Linked DNA regions of Homo sapiens: region 1 is linked to region 2. Evidence: promoter capture Hi-C in human tissues and cell types (Jung and others, 2019). All regions are on one chromosome and are shown on one strand. The core of a region is centred on a gene start or on the middle of the fragment in contact, and the rest is flanking DNA. Distances in the headings are between cores, read along the strand shown.

What was found. Contacts are between HindIII fragments. The study calls those that stand out against the background at their distance.
Region 1: a fragment that was not itself captured here is called in contact with the fragment with the promoter of PLK4 in region 2 in 1 of the 25 tissues and cell types used here (heart left ventricle).

Annotation. Positions count from the first base shown.
Region 1 is chr4:128,146,749-128,153,508 of GRCh38, reverse strand. All of the region lies in intron 11 of LARP1B (La ribonucleoprotein 1B), which reads right to left. Among named protein-coding and RNA genes, the nearest start is that of LARP1B, 89 kb to the right of the region's middle. The HindIII fragment of the contact is 3,032 bases long and covers 3,411-6,442 here.
Region 2 is chr4:127,877,720-127,885,064 of GRCh38, reverse strand. PLK4 (polo like kinase 4) reads right to left here and starts at 4,172. Exons shown (of 16, transcript NM_014264.5): 1 at 3,901-4,172; 2 at 3,139-3,234; 3 at 1,708-1,803; 4 at 1,512-1,626. The coding sequence starts at 3,930. RefSeq lists enhancers at 1-163, 3,849-4,088. The HindIII fragment of the contact is 10,406 bases long and covers 1-6,147 here.

The sequences.
Region 1 (6,760 bases), core at 3,677-6,176, 270 kb before region 2:
AATGGTGAAACCCCATCTCTACTAAAAGTACAAAAATTAGCCAGGCGTGGTGGTGCACGCCTGTAGTCCGTGGCTGAGGCAGAAGAATCGCTTGAATCCGGGAGGCGGAAGTTGCAGTGAGCCAAGATCGCGCCACTGCACTCCAGCCTGGGCGACAGACTGAGAGTCTGTCTCATAAATAAATAAATAAATAAATAAATAAATAAATAAATAAATGGCAAACCAAGGCCAGGCGTGGTGGTTCATGCCTGTAATCCCAACACTTTGGGAGGTCGAGGCAGGCGGATCAGCTGAGGTCAGGAGTTCAAGACCAGCCTGGCCAACATAGTGACACCCCGTCTCTACTAAAAATACAAAAATGAGCTGGGTGTGCTGGCGGGCACCTGTAATCCCAGCTACTGGGGAGGCTGAGACAGGAGAATCGCTTGAACCCAGGAGGTGGAGGTTGCAGTGAGCCAAGGTTACACCATTGCACTCCAGCCTGGGTGACAAGAGCAAAACTCCATCTCAAAAAAAAAAAAAAAAAAAAAAAAAAGGCAAACCAAAATTGTAAACTTAAAACTGTAAAATAATAAATCCTGTTGTGTGTTTTATCACAATTAAAAAACAAAAGTAAAAAAGGAAGAGGGCAACAAGACCACTTTGTTGTGCCATAAAATATAAATGTGCTGAACAGATGACAACATGCTGGTTATAAGCAGGAACCATCTTGAGAGAGCTCTAACCTGACTAGGTTTGAGATATTCTGAACATCAAAATGAATGAGGACAAGAATGGATAGAAATCCATGTTGGAGTCCATACTATCACTAAAAAGGGAGAAAATTAAAATATAAAAATAAAAAAATGAAGTGGAGAGGAAAGTTCTTCTTTATAGAAGAATACTAACAGACATATAGGGAATAACAAATTTAAAAATCACCATCTAAATAAAAAAATAAAAATAAAAAATAAAAAACATTAACCTAAAAAATAAAAAAATAAAAAATAAATAAAAATCACCATGTTGGCCGGGCGCAGTGGCTCACACCTGTAATCTCAGCACTTTGGGAGGCCGAGGCAGGTGGATCACGAGGTCAGGAGTTCGAGACCATCCTGGCCAACATGGTGAAACCTCGTCTCTACTGAAAATACAAAAATTAGCTGGGCGTGGTGGTATGCGCCTGTAGTCCAAGCTACTCGGGAGGCTAAGGCAGGAGAATCGCTTGAACCCGGGAGGTGGAGGTTTCAGTGAGCCGAGATTGCGCCACTGCACTCCAGCCTGGGGACAGAGCGAGAGTCCACCTCAAAAAAAAAAAAAAATCACCATCTTATAATAAGCATAATAGCTGATTCAAGCAAAAATCACCAATGGAAGCTAAAATACTGAATAAAGACTGTTGGGGAACACAGTTTTAAAATATCACTCCAAGGATCATTTATTAATTACAAAAGAGAAAAGGTACATTTACAGTGAGCAAATCTGGTAGATATCATCATAACCAAATGACCAAATCACCAATTCTAACCACATCAAATTTTGTAACTGACATCACATGTCTCTGGAGAGCATATACTAAACAAGGCACATTGCCTATGTAATGTTCTTGTCAAAAATACTTAACCTGGCTGGGCGCGGTGGCTCACACCTGTAATCCCAGCACTTTGGGAGGCCAAGGTGGGCAGATCACTTGAGGTCTGGAGTTCGAGACCAACCTGGCCAACATGGTGAAACCTTGTCTCTACTGAAAATACAGAAAATTAGCCAGACATGGTAGTGCATGCCTGTAATCCCAGCTACTCAGGAGGCTGAGGCAGGAGAATCACTTGAACTCGGGAGGCAGAGCCTGCAGTGAGCCGAGATCACGCCATTGCACTCCAGCCTGGGTGACAGAGCGAGACTCCACCTTAAAAAAAAAAAATCTTAACCTGAAGCTAATCATATAAAGATATCGGGCAAATCCAAACTGAAGGACAAAACAACTGGCCTGAACTCTTGAAAAACATCAATGTCATGAATAGCCAAAAAGAAAAAAAAAGGCAGCACAACTATTCTAAATGAAAGAACATTAAAATTATATGACTCTCAAGGCAATGTGTGATTCCTGTCTGGAATTGACTTAGAAAAAAATAAAAGAAATTATAAAGGACAACTGAGACAACTGGAGAAATGTAAATATAAACTGCATATTCAATAATAGCATTCTATCAATGTTAAACTTCTTGTGTTTTTGATAATTGTGGTTATGTAGGAGAGTGTACTTGTTTTTAGGAGATACTTGCTGATGTATTTTAGGATAAGCTGACATAATGTCTACAACTAACTTTCAAATGATTCAGGAAAAAATGTATATATATGCACCTATATATTTATACATAGAAAAAAAGGAAATATGGTAAGATGTTTGCCAAATCTAGGTGAACAATATACTGGCATTCCTCATATTATGTATGTAACTTTTCTGAAGGTTTGAAGTATTTCAAAATGAAGACTTGGAGGGAATAAAATATAGATGCATATTACTGATACAGAAAAATATTCATAACATTAAGTGAGAAAATGGCATTGTCTTTCAAAGTCTACATTTCTCTGCAACTCATATTGGTCTGACTAGAAAGAAGAAGCTTAAGCAACAAGGATTTCCCTTCAGCCAAATTGCTTGAAAGAACCCTTGGTGCTTCAACTTTCTCACTTCCCATTCATGTCAATGTGAATTACAGTCTGATGGTAGGTCCAAGGTGGTCAGCAGTAAGGGATTTTTATTTTTTTATTTTACATTTCTTCATTTATTTTTTTTTCCCAAGACAGAGTCTTGCTGTCTTGCCCAGGCTGGAGTGCAGTGGCGCAATCTTGGCTCACTGCAACTTCTGCTTCTCGGGTTCAAGCAATTTTCTCTGCCTTAAAATAAGAAGTCAGTGGGGGAAAAAAGATGAAGCTGGTTGGGTGCAGTGGCTCACATCTATAATTCCAGCTCTTCAGGAGGCTGATGTGGAAGGATTACTTGAGGCCAGGAATTCAAGACCAGCATGAGCAACACAGTGAGACACTGTCTCCACAAAAAAGTAAAAAATTAGTCAGGTGTGGTAACACATGCCTGTAGTACCAACTACTAGGGAGGCTGAGACAGAAGACTCCCTTGAGCCCAGGAGTTTGAGGCTGCAGTACGCTATGATCTCACCACTGCATTCCAGCCTAGGCACAACAGGGTGAGACCCTGTCTGAAAAAAAAAAAAAAAAGAAAAAAATTAAAGCTATAGTTGAGATAGAATGTGTCCCTTTATGGGTCATAATCTCAGACACCATTTATTTTCTTGGCTTCTTCAGTGAAACTATATATAATAACCACACCTTTTTTGTTGTTGTTGTTTTGTTTTGTTTTGAGATGGAGTCTTGGTCTGTCGCCCAGGCTGGAGTGCAGTGGCACGATCTCGGCTCACTGCAACCTCCGCCTCCCGGGTTCAAGTGATTCTCCTGCCTCAGCCTCCTGAACAGCTGGGAGTACAGGTGTGCACCACCATGCCTGGCTAATTTTTGTATTTTTAGTAGAGACAGGGTTTCACCATGTAGGCCAGGATGGTCTCGAACTCCTGACTTTGTAATCCGCCTGCCTCTGCCTCCCAAAATGCTGGGATTACAGGCGTGAGCCACTGCGCCCAGCCCACACCTATTTTTTTCCTCCAAATTACCACTAGTGGACTTCCTGTCTCAATTGTTCCCTCTCCTTTTCTTTAATACCTTAAAAAGTTCAATCACTTTTCCTGCTTTAAGTCTCCCTTCTTTACTAAATACTCCAAAATCTACATTTCTGGCCTTCTTATCATCTCTAGGATTTAGAGAGAGGGCAAAAGACATTTTACATAAATAGACACCATGAATCAACTCAACATTTCCAAATCTGATCTTAAGATCATTCTCTCCTAGGTTTTCCTTGCTAATGTCCCTACTTCTTTCACAAGGTATTATGAACAGATTCTTTAAAATCGCTTCCCAATTTTGGCACTTTTTCATTCTCACGTAGGTTATTAATGAATGTTGAGAAAATAAACGATATTCCTTTTGTTCAGCTCTTCATTTCACCCTTGGATTACTATAAGTGGGTTTTTTAACTCAACTTCTGTCCTCCCCTATTCTGATCTAGGTTAATGCCTCACATATATAAACCTATTAAACCACTATTTTGATCATTCCACTTTCTTTATAAAAACTGCAATTGCTCTTTATTCTAAATTCCTATAAAGCTTTCAAGACACTTTGCAATCTGGTCCCACCTCACCTACCCAATCTTCAGAGTACTGTAGTGCTAACATTTAACTTACAGAAATTCAATTATACTTGTTTAGCAATAATAATACTTTTTAAATGGGCCAGCAATGCCACTGCTATTCTACTCAATGAATGTATGCATTGATGTAATCAAATCCTAATGTTAATGCACAGAAAGAAAAACCTAACGAAAGGATGAATACATTTCGATAATGTCCTGACCACTGAAAAGTGCCCAAACAAGTATAGTTTTACCATATCCTTTCATGTTCAAAAATGTTGAAAAGCATAGGGAAATAACAACTAAAAGTAGAAAGAATTATTTTAAGTATTAGCCTCTGGCCAGGTGCAGTGGCTCATGCCTGTAACTCCACCACTTTGGGAGGCCAAGGCAGGTGGATTACTTGAGGTCAGGACTTCGAGACCAGCCAGGCCAACATGGTGAAACCCCATCTCTACTAAAAATTCAAAACTTAGCCAGGCATTGTGGTGAGCACCTATAATCCCAGCTACTCAGGAGGCTGCAGCAGAATTGCTTGAACCCCGAGGGTGGAGGTTGCAATGAGCCAAGACCCCGCCACTGTGCTCCAGCCTGGGCAACAGAATGAGACTCCATCTCAAAAATAAATAAATAAAATAAAGTAAAATAATAAAATTTAAAAAAAAATCAGCTTCTAAAGAGAAAGATGACTATGGACAGGAAGACCCATCAAATTAGAATCTTTATAAATATGCTCAAGTACTTCAAAATTCAAGCACTTCAATACTTTATTTTATAAATATGATCCTGCTACATTACTACATATATATTTAGAAGCTTTTTTTTTTTTGAGACAGAGTTTCACTCTTGTTGCCCAGGCTGGACTGGAGTGCAATGGTGCAATCTCGGCTCACTTCAACCTCCACCTCCCAGGTTCAAGAGATTCTCCGGCCTCAACCTCCCAAGTAGCTGGGGTTATAGGCGCCCACCACCACGCCCAGCTAGTTTTTTATATTTTTAGTAGAGAGGGACTTCACCATGTTGGCCAGGCTGGTCTCAAACTCCTGCCCTTAGGTGATCTACCTGCCTCAGCCTCCCAAAGTGCTAGGATTACAGGCATGTGCCACCGCGCCCAGCTTTAGATGCATATTAAGGTGTAAGGCTATGCATAAAGTGATACGTATTTTACTGGTGATTTAAGAGAATTAGGAATGTTTTGATCATTCTCAATTTTCAACTTAAAAGGGCTCTAAAACCTATTCCCAAATAATATTGAACTCTGTTAGATAATTCACATACTTAGCTCTCATTAGATAATCAATGTCAAGAAACTTTTTATTACTCAGGAGCCAATTTCAAAAAAAAGTTGTAAACTCTGTATTTTTTTCATAAATTATATCAACAGGCTATTAATAAACACATTCGTGCTTACATATTACTGTATTCTATCAGTGAAGGAGTGACTAGAAACTTTATAAATTATATTGTAATTACTGGCCATAACTCTTTTTTCTTTTTTTTACTACTGGCCATAATTCTATTATTTGATGAAGACACTTCAGAAACTCATTTGTTTTCCATTTATTGACTTTATAAGTTTTTAATTTTGAATTCTGGGTCACAAAAAGTACTCTTCAATCCACTTTCTTTGAAACACAAGATTTTCTTCAGCCACTGTTCTAGCAATAACCACATCCAGATTTCATTATTTAAGAGGCAATCTACCCACTTAGAGCACCCCATACTACTTTCTGTCCTCAACTTCTCTTTTTTACTGTTCCCCTTCATAAATCAAACCCACCAGCTACCTTCTCTAGCTAGACTACTTATTCTCTGTTTTGATTTTGTACATATATCCAAATATTGCCTAATAATCAAGGCAAAACTCTTGCATGCATCAAGGGGAGAACTTTTTGAAAGAATGTATAAAAGAGCAAATTTTTCAATCGCTGTCTTAGCAGTGAGAAAAAGGGAAAGACTCTGTCACAGAAATCTGAGCAAAGAAACCAGGCGATCTTAGAAAAAGGGCAAGAAAGAAGCCAGCCAGTTGTTTGGGGCTAACTAGTTCACACCTCAAAGCAAATATACAAAAGAGGTCTCTCGTCCCAGCTAACAAAGCTGAGAATCATAAAGAATCTGGGGACTGGAAACTCCATCACTCCTCAACACTGTTCACAAATTGCCTATCACTATGCTTAGCACCTAACAGCTACTCAAATATCTGTTAAATGAATAAATGGATAGATGAATGAATGAGTGAACCAATGGGATAGACACTGTCATCAAGGAGAATGTGTTGCAATGGAAGTTATCTTCTGTGTCCTTTATTTTTGGTCAGGAATACTAAGCATAACAGTGGGTCCTAGATCAGATGTTTTATAATATAGAATATTCGTTATTTAGGACCTAGTTTTAAGTTCTAGGCTTCTCTAGGATGCTTCCCTTGATTATGCCAACCTAAAACTCTCAAAATTCTTTCATCCAGCTATTTTTAAATAACTGTTCTGCTTTGAAATATCTTGTATAAAACCTATGTGT
Region 2 (7,345 bases), core at 2,923-5,422:
AATTAAGAAAAACAATTGCACAAACGATTCATACATATTTTCTAATTGTTAAAAAAAAGAAAAAGCTAAAGTTCCAACGATGTCTCCCAAACTTTCCCAAGTAATCAATTTGTAAGCTTTTTTTTTTAGATGGAGTCTTGATCTGTCACCAGGCTGGAGTGCAGTGGCACAATCTCAGTTCACTGCAATCTCTGCCTCCCGGGTTCAAGCAATTCTCCTGCCTCAGCTTCCTGAGTAGCTGGGATTACAGGAGAGCACCACCACACCGAGCTAATTTTTTTTGTATTTTTAGTAGAGACGGGGTTTCACCATGTCAGCCAGGATGGTCTTGATCTCCTGACCTTGTGATCCATCCACCTCAGCCTCCCAAGTAGCTAGGATGACAGGCATGAGCCACCGTGCCCGGCTAATTTTTGCATTTTTAGTAGAGATGGGGTTTTACCATATTGGCCAGGCTGGTCTCGAACTCCTGACCTCAGGTGATCTACGTGCCTCAGCCCCCCAAGGTGCTGGGATTACAGGCGTGAGCCACTGAGCCCAGCCTAATAAGGCCTTTTTTAATGAAGTATTATAAAAAACTGCAGTAGTCATTATCAAGATGAGTATCAATTTTTTTTCAATTTGTATTATTTCTTTGGAATAAACTTCCAACAATGGAATCTGAGTCAAAGAATATAAATATTTCCGTAACTCTAAATACATATGTCCGAATTGTTTTCCAAATGGCTTATATAGATTCAGATGTACAAGAAGCCTATCAGCAACTACTTCTGTTAGCTTGTCTGTAATCTCAGTTAGCAGAGCAAGATAACTTGAAAACAATCATTTGTGTCAATGTATAGACCTTATTTGGTTCTGCTTTGAACTGCAAAAAATTATGAGAAATTGAGGAAGTCTGAAGCTATATATTTGATAGTAAATAATTATTAGGTGTGATAATGACTTTGTGGCTACGTTTTTAAAGAAGTCTATACTTTGAAATATTTCTAGTTAAAAATATGTCTATAATTTGCTTCAAAATACTTTGGAAAATCAAGGTAGTAAAAACAGTAAAGATGAAATAATATGACCATGAGTCACTAGTTTTGGAAGCTGAGTGTTAAGTTCAGGGGACTCATTATAGCACACTACCTGTATGTTTCATGTTTTCTATAATAAACAGTTTCAATGGCTATTTATGCTTGATTTAGAACTACTTTATAGTCACCAATGACATCCTAAAAAGGTTACTACATTTGAAAAGATACACAGTAAACTGCTACCAATAATTTAATTTAAAATGTGGTTTTAAGGACAGAAGGATAACAAATTTCTTACTTTACTACCGTAATAATTGAATTGTTTTAAGAATTAGCAGCTTGGGATGTAGGAAATCTCCTTTTCTAGCTTAAAGTAATAATTCAAACAGTTTTACTATATATTATAAAATAGCATATTCCTCAAAACTACACTTTAAAATGCAAAACTTTTATCCACCCAAACAAAACAAACAAAAAAAACCACACACCTACCTTCATTTTCTGAGAAGGGTTTCACTCTATTCTTTAGATACCTGTTCATTTCTCCATTATGGCACATTTCTAATACCAGATACACATAATTGCTATCTTCAAAATAGTTATAAAGCTGAAATGTGAAAGGGCATAATAAATTAAAATATACAAAAATTCAGTGTCCTTGGTCACTTCTACAAAATTTATATCTTACCTCCAAGATAGAAGGATGTTTCAATTGGCAATGTATTTTCACCTCATTTTGGACTCTCTGTACCATTCCTGCTTTGTACATGGCTTTCTTATCTATCTAAAAATAACAGGTTTAAATGTTGACAGACTTTCAAATATAAACTGCTTAAAAGTGAACTTTGAAAATAAAGTATACTTTAAAATAGACTGAAGTCCTTTTATACGTCTTTGTGGTCAACCTACTGTTATCTGTTTTCCCCATGCACCTAGCAGAGTGCTCGGCAGAGAGGGTGCTTGGTAAAAGTTTGACCAATTAATTCTAATATCCTATCTCAATTTAAATAATCTAATAGCACAACTAGCCTAACTATTAAGAAAAAAAAATCCCAATTCAGGCAAATTTTAGAGCAAAACCTCCAGTTCTTTTTCTAAGTGGTTTAGATAAATGATTTTTTTTTTTTAAAGGCAGGGTCTCACTGTCACCTAGGCTGGAGTGCAGTGGCATGATCACAGTTCACTGCAGCCTCAACCTCCCAGGCACAATCTATCCTCCCACCTCAGCCTCCTGAGTAGCTGGGACCACAGGCACATGCCACCACGCTTGGCTAATTTTTTTTTTTGAGATGGGAATTTAGCTCTTGTTGCCTGGGCTGGAGTGCAATGGCGCGATCTCAGCTCACCACAACCTCTGCCTCCCGGGTTCAAGCGATTCTCCTGCTCAGCCTTCAGAGTAGCTGGGATTACAGGTGTGCAGCACCACACCCGGCTAATTTGGTATTTTTAGTAGAGATGGGGTTTCTCCATGTTGGTCAGGCTGGTCTTGAACTACCGACCTCAGGTGATCCACCCGCCTCGGCCTCCCAAAGTGCTGGGATTACAGGCGTGAGCCACCGTGCCCAGCAGCAGCTAATTTTTGTATTTTTGGTAGAGAGGAGGTTTCACCATGTTGCACAGTTGTTTTCAAACTCCTGAGCTCAGGTGATCCACCTGCCTCAGCCTCCCAAAGCGTTGAGATTACAGGTGTGAGCCACCCACCCGGCTGACAAATAATTCTTAATTTGCTTATGTTTATGTTACTCCTATTAGGCTGACTTCTAACAATCAAGAATAATATTTTGTATGTTACAGGGAAATACAAAATTATACACAGTGAACTATAAACAAATTATTTGTTAGTTGATTTCTACTCATTACTCCAAGTATGGATAATTACACCACATACGAGGTCTACTGAACATTAATGAAGATAAAACTTACTTAAGCAAGGTCAAGGCTTTCCTAAAATATTTTTAAGTTCAACGGCTGGACTTGGCACTATTGTCTTCTGCCTATGTAAAGTGTTCCTTACACTATAATCAAAGGAAAGGCTAGTAGACAAGGAGTTTCTGACATCTCTGATACCTCTCTAGTTACTTGCAAAGTACAGGAGAGAAGTTGATTAGTTTATTCTTACCATTTTGATTGCAACTTCCAAACCAGTGTGAATGGACTCAGCTCTGTAGACACCAGCAAATGATCCTTTACCAAGCAGATTTCCAACTTTAAAATCCTTAAAAGTTAAAATTAAAGATTATGTGTGATGACTCACAGTAGAAAGGAAGATGGGAAGGGGCTGGAAAAAGAAGATAAAATGGATCGAGTGGGGAATTTGACAAAATTCAAGCGGGTATTACACCTCGATGCAGCAGGTGTCTAGGGTGGAAGGCATGTTGACTCCGTGCGGGGATACCTGCGCTTCCAGGCTGGACTGGAAGCTCAGGGTGATGGTGCACCCTAGTGATCTGGTTCCTCAACCTCAGTGCAGCCTAAGCGCCCTCCTCCCATCTCCAGCCAATCCCCGGGAGCGGAGGGCTCGGTCAGAATCCCGCCGCAGCTCCCGCCGGAGATAACCGCCATCCCCTTGGAGAAGTGGGAGGTAGCCCTGCCCTGCTCTAACGCGGTAGCTCGGGCGGGATTGCTGAAAGAAAGCCGCAGTGCCTCGGGACACTGCCGGGCGGGGAGGGACTCACCTGTCCCGCCTTCCCTACTCTTGTCTCTTGAGGGGCGGGCCGCTCCGCCCCTAAACAGCAGGGGTCTGGGCCGTTGGGACCCTCCCTAAGCACCTCGGTGCCCGCCCCGCAGCCGTTAGCTTCGTTCGCTCCCCTTCCCACAGCGGTCTCGTGTCCTCCCACAATTACTCCCACCCGCCCCGCTGCAGACTGCCGAGTCTTTTCACCTCGATCTTCTCCCCGATGCAGGTCGCCATATTTCCAGGCTCTGGCCTGGGTTCTCCGGATTAGCTTCCTTCACGCAGTCCCTTCGAGGCAGCGCTCCAAGCAGCCAGCCGGCCTTGGCGCCCATCAGGCTCGGCTCTCTAAACCGCCGCTCCAGGCGACGACGCTGAAACCACGGAAAGTTCTCCCTGACACCTTCCGAGGCCTGGGCGGTGCCTCTGGGCTCCCATTTTGAAAATCTCCCGCCGCTTGCCGTCCGAGCTAGGCTGGTGGTGACGTAACGAGATGGATCGCTCCGGATAGGCTGCGCCGGGGCGCGCATGCGCGGCAGACCTTCCTTTGCGGCCGGCCCAGGGTTCTAGACTTCGGGGCCAAGGGCCGGAAGCGCTGCGGAGAGTTTAGTTCGGGCGGGAGGCTGTCTCGGGCCCACTCTCGGAAGAACTTCTGCAAGACGGGTAAAAGAGCAGGCCTTAAAGATGGGACACTTATGGCTGATCGGTTACTTCACGGTCCGAAATACCACTTCTAATTCCGGAAAGGGTTTAAAACTATTTTAAAATGTCAAGCGTTTAAGACTTGACGGAACAGGGCAAAAAACATTACCTTCCTTTAAGGAACACCGTTTACACCACTACCGCTTATTCCGTAGTTTGTTATAACTGTAGTTAATGTGTACGGTACCTTAAGAAAACGAACTCCATTCTTTATTTTGGCAAACTCCTAAGTATTTAATATTATAATGTCATTTGTATAATAATTTACAGTTAGATCTCTCATACACATAATTTGTATGGATCAAAAGAGACCTCTGTAAGTTTGGGATGGTGTTTTGCAGGTGAGAAAAGTGTGATGCTTAAGGAAGGATATTTAACAAACAGAAGTAGCGCACAAACTTAGATCTTCTGTTATTAAGTGAAAGCTCTTTTCCTTGATGTTAGTGTGTATTTCTTTTTCTTTTTCTTTTTTCTTTTGAGATGGAGTCTCGCTCTGTCGCCCAGGCTGGAGTGCAGTGACTCGATCTCGGCTCACTGCAGCCTCCATCTCCTGGGTTCCAGCGATTCTCCTTCCTCAGTCTCCCGGGTAGCTGGGATTTACAGGTACGCGCCACCACGACTGGCTAATTTTTGTATTTTTAGTAGAGACGGGGTTTCACCATGTTGGCCAGGCTGGTCTCGAACTCCTGACCTCAGGTGATCCGCCTGCGTCGGCTTCCCAAAGTGCTAGGAATACAGGCGTGAGCCTCCATGCCCGGCCCATTTTTTTTTTTAAACTTTTTAGTTTCAAATAATTTTAAGCTTACAGAAAAGTTGTAAAAATAATAGAGAACTCCTGTTGTCCTTTACTCAGATTAACCAATTCTTAACATTTTGCCACACTTGTTTTTACTATTCTTCATGTGTAATATACATGTATAAATATATAAATAAGCCTATTATTTGTATTTTATGAATCATTCTAAAATAGGTTACATACACTATGCTCTTATACCCCTTATTTCTAAAGTGTGAATTTCTTAAGAACCAGGGTATCCTCTTGTATGTTTATCAAATTAAGGATATTTAGCATTGATACAATATTTATATTTAATCTAATCTACAGTTCATATTCCGATTTGTCAATTGTTCCAGTAATGTCTTTATTTAACATTTTTTCCTTCCAGTATAGATCTAGTACAGGATCACATACCGTATTTAGTTACCATATCTTTTTAATTTCCTTTAATATGGAAGAGTTCCTCAGCATTTGTATTTTTGTGACATTGAGATTTTTGAAGAGTGCAGGCCAATTATTTATCATTCGTTCATTTGTTCATTCCAGTATTACTGAGGTATAGTTGACAAAAATTGTATTTATTCAAGTTGTACAGCATGATGATTTCATATACATTGTGAAATGATTACAACAATCAAATTAACACATTGTCACCACTCTTAGGAGTGTGTGTGTGTGTGTGTGTGTGTGTTAAGGGCCAGTTATTTTACAGAATCTTCCCTACTTTGGGTTTGTCTCGTGTTTCCTCATGATTAGATTCAGGTTATGTATTCCTGATTGTAATATTACATACATGAGGTTATATTCTTTCCAAGAGACCACATTTGGAGGCACGTGATATTGTTTGTCTCTCATTAGTGATGTTAATTTGATCCCAGTTTCTCCACTGTATAAATTGCTGGTTTTCTACTTGCAACTAATAAGCAATCTATGGGGGAGACACTTGAATTTCCTGCAAATATTCTGCTCCTCAGCAAACCCCTCTCTCACAATTTAGCAGTATTATTGATTTTTCCTAAACTAGTCTTTACTATGATAGTTACAAAATGATAATTGTTCTCTTTCCATATGTATTAGAAACAATTTTGCCAAAAAGATGAGCCCCGCCTGGTGTGGTGGCTCAAGTCTGTGATCCCAGCACTTTGGGAAGTTGAGGCAAGCAGATCGCTTGAGCCCAGGAGTTCCAGATCAGCCTGGGCAAAATAGTGGAAACACAGTCTCTACAAAAAATACAAAAATTAGCCAGGGGAGGTGACTTGCACCTGTGGTCCCAGCCACTCAGGAAGCTGAGGTGGAAAGATCACTTGAGCCTGGGTGGCAAAGGCTGCAGTGTGCCAGGTTCATGCCACTGCACCACAGCCTGGGCGACAGAGCGATACCCTGTCTCCAAACAAACAAACAAACAAAAAACAACCAGAAGAGCCCTACATTTTGCCCTGTTTAATGATATACAGATGGTCCCCAACTTATTATTATGATGGTACAATTTATGATATTTTGTCTTTACAATGTATTTATAAGGCTATTAAATGCATTTTTTGACTTAGGATATTTTTGACTCATGATGAATTTATTGGGATGTAGCCCCCTCATAATTCAAGGAACATCTGTGTTTTCAGTATGAATTTAGGGATTCCCAGATTATTGAATCAGTTATAATCCATTTCCTCAAAGGATTATAATCCATTACCATCTTATTTTGGTGTTCAAAGTGTCTGAGATTTGTTTAGTGAGAGCTCCTTTCAACCTAGCTGTTTTGATAGGACATATATATATAAAAGCAGTTCTTTACTTTCTGGTACAACAAGATGTTCTAATTTTATTTTGGGCTTTCTCTCACCCAGCACTGAAAGGAGCCATTTCTGCAAAGTGTCCTGACACCTTACAGTAGAAAATGGTGCTTAAAAAACAATATCTGGGAGCTTAGCAAGCTTATTGCGACTTAGGTGTCATTGCATCTATGCCTTTTCAGCAGATGAAACTAAAGAAAAAAATATTAGTAATCATGAGTTCAAGCTGATATCACCAATTCTAATCTAATTTCACATAGTTGTTCCTACTACCTTAAATTTCTATTTAATCACTGTTACCATATATACATAATTTTAAAAATCAAATTGTTTTATAACAAATATTAATAACAAGCATACAAACTCTGCATTTCTGCTTCCCAGA